Linked DNA regions of Homo sapiens: region 2 is linked to region 1. Evidence: promoter capture Hi-C in 16 types of primary human blood cells and fetal thymus (Javierre and others, 2016). All regions are on one chromosome and are shown on one strand. The core of a region is centred on a gene start or on the middle of the fragment in contact, and the rest is flanking DNA. Distances in the headings are between cores, read along the strand shown. Region 1 holds the start of HNRNPK-AS1 (HNRNPK antisense RNA 1). Region 2 overlaps TUT7 (terminal uridylyl transferase 7).

Region 1 (2,700 bases), core at 1-2,500:
TCATTTAAAAAGTATGAAATTAATGTTTGACTTCACAAAGGAGAGAACTTACCATATCCGGAGCCACCCTAAAAACAGAAAGAAAAAAATAGAAAATTACTTTGCCGTTGTAATTACTACCGGTACTTTAAAAAAATTCATTTAATAAAATGGAGTCTTGCTATGTTGCCCAGGCTGGTCTCAAACTCTCGGGCTCAAGTGATCCTCCTGCCTCAGACTCTTTTGTAGTTGGGATTATGAGTGAGCACCACTGCACCCAGCTTCACTATTCAAGTATTTTAATCTCATAAAATCCCTCTTCAGGAAACCAAAGTCCTCCTGTATCCTATTTTCAGTAAGTATCCTCAGGGGAATAAAAAACTTACTGGAGAGCAGGTAAGCATCTTAAATTATCACTGATATACACACGAACAACTATGATACTCAACCTGTGGTTCATAAGCCATCTGCCATTCTGATGGGCTCCATGTATCTATTGCAGAGTCCCAAGTTTCATCAGCACTGAAACCAACCTGTTAGAGATAAAAACATTAACATGAACCCGCATTGTATTTTGTTATAGAGCTGTTTTTAATATGCCTAATTTGCATGTTACATTAAAACAAAAGAGGGTACATATATAGGCAGCAATTTTGTAATCGAGGGGAACAAAGCTCAATAAAGTCGTAATCCTCCAGCAGCAAATAACAGAATTATTTAACTAGTAATCCAAACAAAATTTACTTGTAAGAAAAACTTTTTAATCACTATAACCTTCAACAAAACGTGAACTACATTGTGACAACCCTCACATACCCAACACACTGGTAATAAACCAAAGTTCTTACCATGCCGTCGTAACGGTCTCCAGGTCTCCCTCTTCTGTCATAGGCCATGAGGTCTCTGCAAGCATAGTACTTGTTGTAATCTAAACGTGCTTACATGCCACACATATCAAATCAAAGTCTACCTTGTCTACCACTAAGTGCAGCCTCTTGCAGGTTAATAATTCATAGATGGGGGAAGAAAAAACAACAACAACAAAAAAAACAACTTACCCCCCTCTAGGTGGTGGTGGTGGAGGAAGAGGAAGATTCCGAGCTCTGCTACCACCCCGGCCGCCTCGTCCGGGAGGAGGGGGAGGTGGTCCTCGACGAGGGCTCATATCATCATAATCTCTTCTAGATGGAGGCATGGGACGCCCACCCCGACCAGGAGGCATTCTGTCAAAACCACCTCTTCCCCGCATGGGAAATCCCACTGGGCGTCCGCGACGGTCATCAAACATCATTGTAAAACCACCATAATCATAGGTTTCATCGTAAAAATTGGGATCATAAGGCTGTGCACGTCCTTTGATGGGAGACTAAAAACAGAGATGGAACAAACTTACAGACTGAAGAAAAAGAGTCCTGCTTCATACCAATCCTTCTAACATCATCATCAAACAAAATGTAAGTCATTCCCCCATCAGGAGGTACTAGAGACAGAAACAGGAATTATGTCAACGCTAAAAGTAGCAAAGTAAAGATTCCAAAGAAATCCAATACTTTTGGCAAATGCTAAACAAAAGTGAGTTCTATTGCCTATACAGGGAGAAGTAATAGCTTGCTCTTACACTTAGATCGTAAGAAACCACAAAGCCCTCCCATTTTACACATGACAAACTACAATGCACATTTCACAACAAGGGCTGAAGAGATCAGTCTTGGCAAGCCTGTAATCCATACTGAGGCACCTGAGATAGGAAGCCCTGCAGCATAGTTACAAAGACACAAGCAACACTATAGGAAATTCATTCAAAGGCTCAAAGGCTATAGAAATACCACCAACAAATTACCACTCTCCACTTTTTCAAAACCATTTTTAAATTAAAGTGATGGCTGAAGCCAGGTGATAGAAAATTGCTAGGGAAAGGGCAAATAAAGACTATTAGACTAAATGCTCTGAAGCTACTTTTGCAGAAGGTTATCACTTTGTTTCATAAAATCAAATGTAAACAAAAAGTGTTCTGAAGTACCTCAGATATAAGATCAAGGATGATCTTTATGCACTCTACAACCCTATCGGGTTTTCCTCCAATAAGAACAACTCTGTCAGTGGAATGAGGACAGCATTCCTGGAAAAGCTTGATGGTGGTTTGAGTGTTCTGTAGTAAGATCATAAAAAAAAATAATAATAATTAGAAGAAAATTAGCTTTCCTAGGTTCAGTGAAAATTGCATTTGAATTCAACAATTAACCCCCCACAATATAAAAACTTCATTAATTATCACAGGGCTTTGCAATGGTATAAAAATTTTGACAAAATAACATGTCTAGCAGTGCCAGACATTTTTTGTCATTTGCGATAAGCAATCTTTGGAGGGAACTGAGAGGGGAAGCGAGAGAAGCTCACAGAAACAAGTCTATATGAAAATTTACTTTCCAGCAAAGAATACGGCAGAATTTTTTTTTTTTTACCTCTCGAAGTTCTTTGATTTTAGCACCTTTGACCCCAATAATTCCTCCTGCTAGACTCTGATGAATCAACAGCCTCAACTCGCAGTCAAAGTCACTTCCTTTATAGTGTTGGTACTGTGGAGGGAGAATTATAAAATTTTAGTCTCAAATCAACAATTCCCCAATACACACTTATCTGCTATAAGCATAACAATAATATACTGTTGCAGTGAGCAACCTGAATTTATATTTCAATAACTTTACCAGTTATGTGCTTATT
Region 2 (4,682 bases), core at 1,874-4,373, 2.3 Mb after region 1:
TTGGTTGTTGTTTTAAATAATGGAGATGGGATCTCACTATGTTGCCCAGGCTGGTCATGAACTCCTGGGCTCAAGTGATCCTCCCCCATCAGCCTCCCAAAGTGCTGGGATTACAAGCATGAGCCACCATGCGAGCCTAGATGAAAAGATTTTAAACTGGAATATTTTAAATAGGTTTACAGTCTGATTCATTTTAGGAAGAAGACATTTCAACTGAAATTAACCTTTTTTTTTTCCCTAAAGACAATCTTCATTAACTTACTAGATAATAATAAAGAATTATAAGTAACATCTGACCTCATGGCTTTTATACGTCCTTGGTCTGAACATCTAGAAAATAAGGGCTGGTGAAATAAACAATCAGTTCCCTTTCAGTAGATATAAGATCTCTCTGCACAAACACCCCTAAAGGGTCAGAGAGGTCCTATAAATCCCTGAAACATATCTGAATTATCTTAGAATCCTCAGCCTCAGAACACTGCCAGGTTCACAGCAAGTAAGCATAATAACTCTTGAAAGATTCACTAAGATGAAATGAATGTGACTTCTTTAACTTGAGGTTTTTGCAAGGTGAGACATTTGTTCCCTTAACCTCTCTAAACAAAAAGCCTGAAAAAAATCTTACCAATGTGTTATACAAACTGATATCTACTTCCAGACCACTTCTCAAATGGAAGAACTTCACAATTGGCACCTTTGCTGTTGTAATAGGTAAGATGTTTCTCAGACCTAAGTTGGGAAATAAAATGTTATCATTAAATACAGCAGCTGGGGATATAAGTAACTCTTATGTTAATGTTCCAATATAAAATGGTGTAAACCTAACTTTGGCCTGTTTCATTGCATTCATTAGGACTTGTCAAAGAATTCTGTTATTAACAAACATCTGGGAAGATTAGTCTGGCAAAGTTTACATTTATTAAACATATTGATATTAGAACTACAAGAATCAAACAGTCACTCCCCTCTGGGAACTTACTGGATCGTATGTGCACACGTGTGCATGTGTGTATATGCATGTGTATGTCGTTGTCACTAAGACAAATACCAAACAGAGGAAACTACTATAGAGTCTGAACTATGTGGTTCCCACCTGTTCTCTCCATGTGACTATATCTAATTTGGAGAACAGCCTAAGGGACGATTATCCTCCAAACAAGTTACTCACCTTAAAGCTAGAAGTTATGAAGTTAATAGGAATTAACTTCAATAGGAGAGAGGAAATTGCCTGAGCTAAGCTTTGAAAAAGAGGGAGAAAAACCAGCAAAAATAGTGGCAGTTGAGCAAATTTACCAGGCAAGGCAAACTGTACACAAAAAGTGTAGATGCCTGAAATAGAATGGTACGTTCAGGGAAGTTCCAGAGAATTGCATAGGTTGCCGAATGAACTTGAGGGAATGGAATATGAGGCATAGGAGATGGTGGAGAAACTGGGAAAGGTCCAACTACAGAACATACACATTTTGCTAAGAATTATCCTTAGTCCTCTCCCTCTCCCTCTCCCCTCTTCCCTCTCCCCTCTCCCCACGGTCTCCCTCTCCCTCTCTTTCCACGGTCTCCCTCTGATGCCGGTCTCCCTCTGATGCCGAGCCGAAGCTGGACTGTACCGCTGCCATCTCGGCTCACTGCAACCTCCCTGCCTGATTCTCCTGCCTCAGCCTGCCGAGTGCCTGCGATTGCAGGTGCGCGCCGCCACGCCTGACTGGTTTTCGTATTTTTTTGGTGGAGACGGGGTTTCGCTGTGTTGGCCGGGCTGGTCTCCAGCTCCTAACCACGAGTGATCCGCCAGCCTTGGCCTCCGGAGGTGCCGGGATTGCAGACGGAGTCTCGTTCACTCAGTGCTCAATGGTGCCCAGGCTGGAGTGCAGTGGCGTGATCTCGGCCCGCTACAACCTCCACCTCCCAGCCGCCTGCCTTGGCCTCCCAAAGTGCTGAGATTGCAGCCTCTGCCCGGCCGCCACCCCGTCTGGGAAGTGAGGAGCATCTGTGCCTGGCCGCCCATCGTCTGGGATGTGAGGAGCCCCTCTGCCTGGCTGCCCAGTCTGGAAAGTGAGGAGCGTCTCTGCCCGGCCACCATCCCATCTAGGAAGTGAGGAGCGCCTCTTCCCGGCCGCCATCCCATCTAGGAAGTGAGGAGCGTCTCTGCCCGGCCACCCATCGTCTGAGATGTGGGGAGCGCCTCTGCTCTGCCGCCCCGTCCGGGATGTGAGGAGCGTCTCTGCCCGGCCGCCCCATCTGAGAAGTGAGGAGACCCTCTGCCTGGCAACCGCCCAGTCTGAGAAGTGAGGAGCCCCTCAGCCCAGCAGCCGCCCCGTCTGAGAAGTGAGGAGCCCCTCCGCCCGGCAGCCACCCCGTCTGGGAAGTGAGGAGCGTCTCCACCCGGCAGCCACCCCATCCGGGAGGGAGGTGGGGGGGTCAGTCCCCCGCCCGGCCAGCTGCCCCGTCTGGGAGGTGAGGGGCGCCTCTGCCCGGCCGCCCCTACTGGGAAGTGAGGAGCCCCTCTGCCCGGCCACCATCCCATCTGGGAGGTGTACCCAACAGCTCATTGAGAACAGGCCATGATGACAATGGCGGTTTTGTGGAATAGAAAGCGGGGAAAGGTGGGGAAAAGATTGAGAAATCGGATGGTTGCCGTGTCTGTGTAGAAAGAGGTAGACATGGGAGACTTTTCATTTTGTTCTGTACTAAGAAAAATTCTTCTGCCTTGGGATCCTGTTGATCTGTGACCTTACCCCCAACCCTGTGCTCTCTGAAACCTGCTGTATCCACTCAGGGTTGAATGGATTAAGGGCGGTGCAAGATGTGCTTTGTTAAACAGATGCTTGAAGGCAGCATGCTCGTTAAGAGTCATCACCACTCCCTAATCTCAAGTACCCAGGGACACAAACACTGCAGAAGGCCGCAGGGTCCTCTGCCTAGGAAAACCAGAGACCTTTGTTCACTTGTTTATCTGCTGACCAGATAAACAAGTTTATTATGCTGCTCCACTATTGTCCTGTGACCCTGCCAAATCCCCCTCTGCGAGAAACACCCAAGAATGATCAATAATAAATAAATAAATAAATAAATAAATAAATAAATAAATAAAAAGAATTATCCTTAGAATCAAAGAGGAGCCAATGAACTGGTCTAAGTTGGGAGGAATCACTGACCACATCTAGTTAGACAATAACCCTGGCAGTGGACAGACTGGAGGCACCAGGAACAGAGGCAGGGTGACCACTTATGAAAAACAACTGGGTGTGAACTTTCATGGTGGCATGGGAATACACAGAAGAAGCAAGGCATGTTTGAGAGCATCTGTAACTGGATGGGAAGCTAGGGGTAGTAAGAGAGGATCAGGGCTTTCAGAGTAAGAGTTACCACTTCCTGAGCACCTAATGTGTGATAGGGATATGTGAAGAGTCCTTTACAAACATTACCTCCTTAGGTTTATCACCCTCATCTTACAGATGAGGAAACAGAGACCCAGAAAGATTCACTAGCTTAGGAATATGCAGCTGGTAAATTGTGGAGCCGGAATTCAAATCTAGGTAAGATTGACTCCCAACTTATACTGAACCTAGTGTGGGTCAGGCTAATTATCATTTCACCCGTTTTATTGATTCCAAGGATGCCAATATCAACAACCATGAAAAAGGATTCACAAGGAAGGGCAGATTAATGGAGTTGGTTCCTGCAGAAGGGAAGCGGTAAAGTGAAAGATAAGCTCATTCTGAGATGTCAGAGTTTGAGTTTCTTCTGAGAGAGCTAAGTGGTGGTTCCTAAAAAGCAGATACATAGTGATCACATCATAGAACACAGGAGAAAATAAGTAGGTAGAAGACATTTCAGGAAAAAATCTGTGTGGCAGACAGAGGAAATGAAACTTAATCTGATGGGGAAAGGGGGCAAGGAAGCTCACTTTACTGAATACTTAGAATATGCTAGGCTTTGCACTTTACGTATTATCTTTCTTAAATGCCATAGAATTGTTATTTCCACTTTAGAGATGAGGAACTGAGTGCTTGTTATGAAGCTGAGTGACTTTTTGGGATTGCACAGCCAGCAAGGGGGAGACAGAATTTAAAATCAGAGTCTGATTCCAGAACCTCCACCTAGTACTTTGCTATCTCGCCTCTAAATTAGACAGAGGCCCTTTTCTTCACATCCTTCCCATTCTGGAATTTGACACTGTTGATCATTACCACACTTCAAAGTCTCGGATTTATTCACAGCATATCTTCCCAGTTCCTTTTCAGTCTCTTTTCTTAATTTCTGTCTAGTCTCTTTCTCTCAATCTCTCTCTTTTTCTTCAAGGCTTTCAATGCAAAAAAACTGTTTTATTTTCATCTTCAATTCTGACTGGCAACCCCATATTTCTAATTGTTTTCTGGAATGTTAAGTCTTGGAGATTATATGCTCATGGCAAACTAAACACTTTCACACAGGTGTTCTCTGCAAACATTCCTGGTTCTCAAATAACCCAGATAGTGACCTCAATCCTTACTTCCTACTTGCAGGTACCAAATCTAGGAAATTTTCCCACTTGGAATCTCTCATATCTTTTTCCTGTTAGCACCAGTGGCACCCTGGCTGAGGTCCTGCTGCCCTGTTGTCTACATTATACCTTCCCTAAAATACCACACCAGCTGCCTAAAAACCTTATGTTATGCTTTTATTGGGTCCTTTCCCTCCTGAAG

Evidence for each region. The method cuts DNA at HindIII sites, captures the fragments that hold promoters and counts their contacts. A CHiCAGO score of 5 or more calls a contact.
Region 2: a fragment that was not itself captured here is called in contact with the fragment with the promoter of HNRNPK-AS1 in region 1 in 1 of 17 cell types (total CD8 T cells); the score reaches 5.3 in total CD8 T cells.

What each region holds. Positions count from the first base shown.
Region 1 is chr9:83,970,845-83,973,544 of GRCh38, forward strand. HNRNPK-AS1 (HNRNPK antisense RNA 1) reads left to right here and starts at 1,251. Exons shown (of 2, transcript NR_186535.1): 1 at 1,251-1,433. It overlaps HNRNPK (heterogeneous nuclear ribonucleoprotein K), which reads right to left. Exons shown (of 17, transcript NM_031263.4): 9 at 2,442-2,555; 10 at 2,000-2,128; 11 at 1,038-1,345; 12 at 828-882; 13 at 429-512; 14 at 53-68. The HindIII fragment of the contact is 2,844 bases long and covers 1-2,105 here.
Region 2 is chr9:86,310,081-86,314,762 of GRCh38, forward strand. It overlaps TUT7 (terminal uridylyl transferase 7), which reads right to left. Exons shown (of 27, transcript NM_024617.4): 18 at 626-729. Among named protein-coding and RNA genes, the nearest start is that of ISCA1, 30 kb to the left of the region's middle. RefSeq lists an enhancer at 2,260-3,097. The HindIII fragment of the contact is 3,774 bases long and covers 1,237-4,682 here.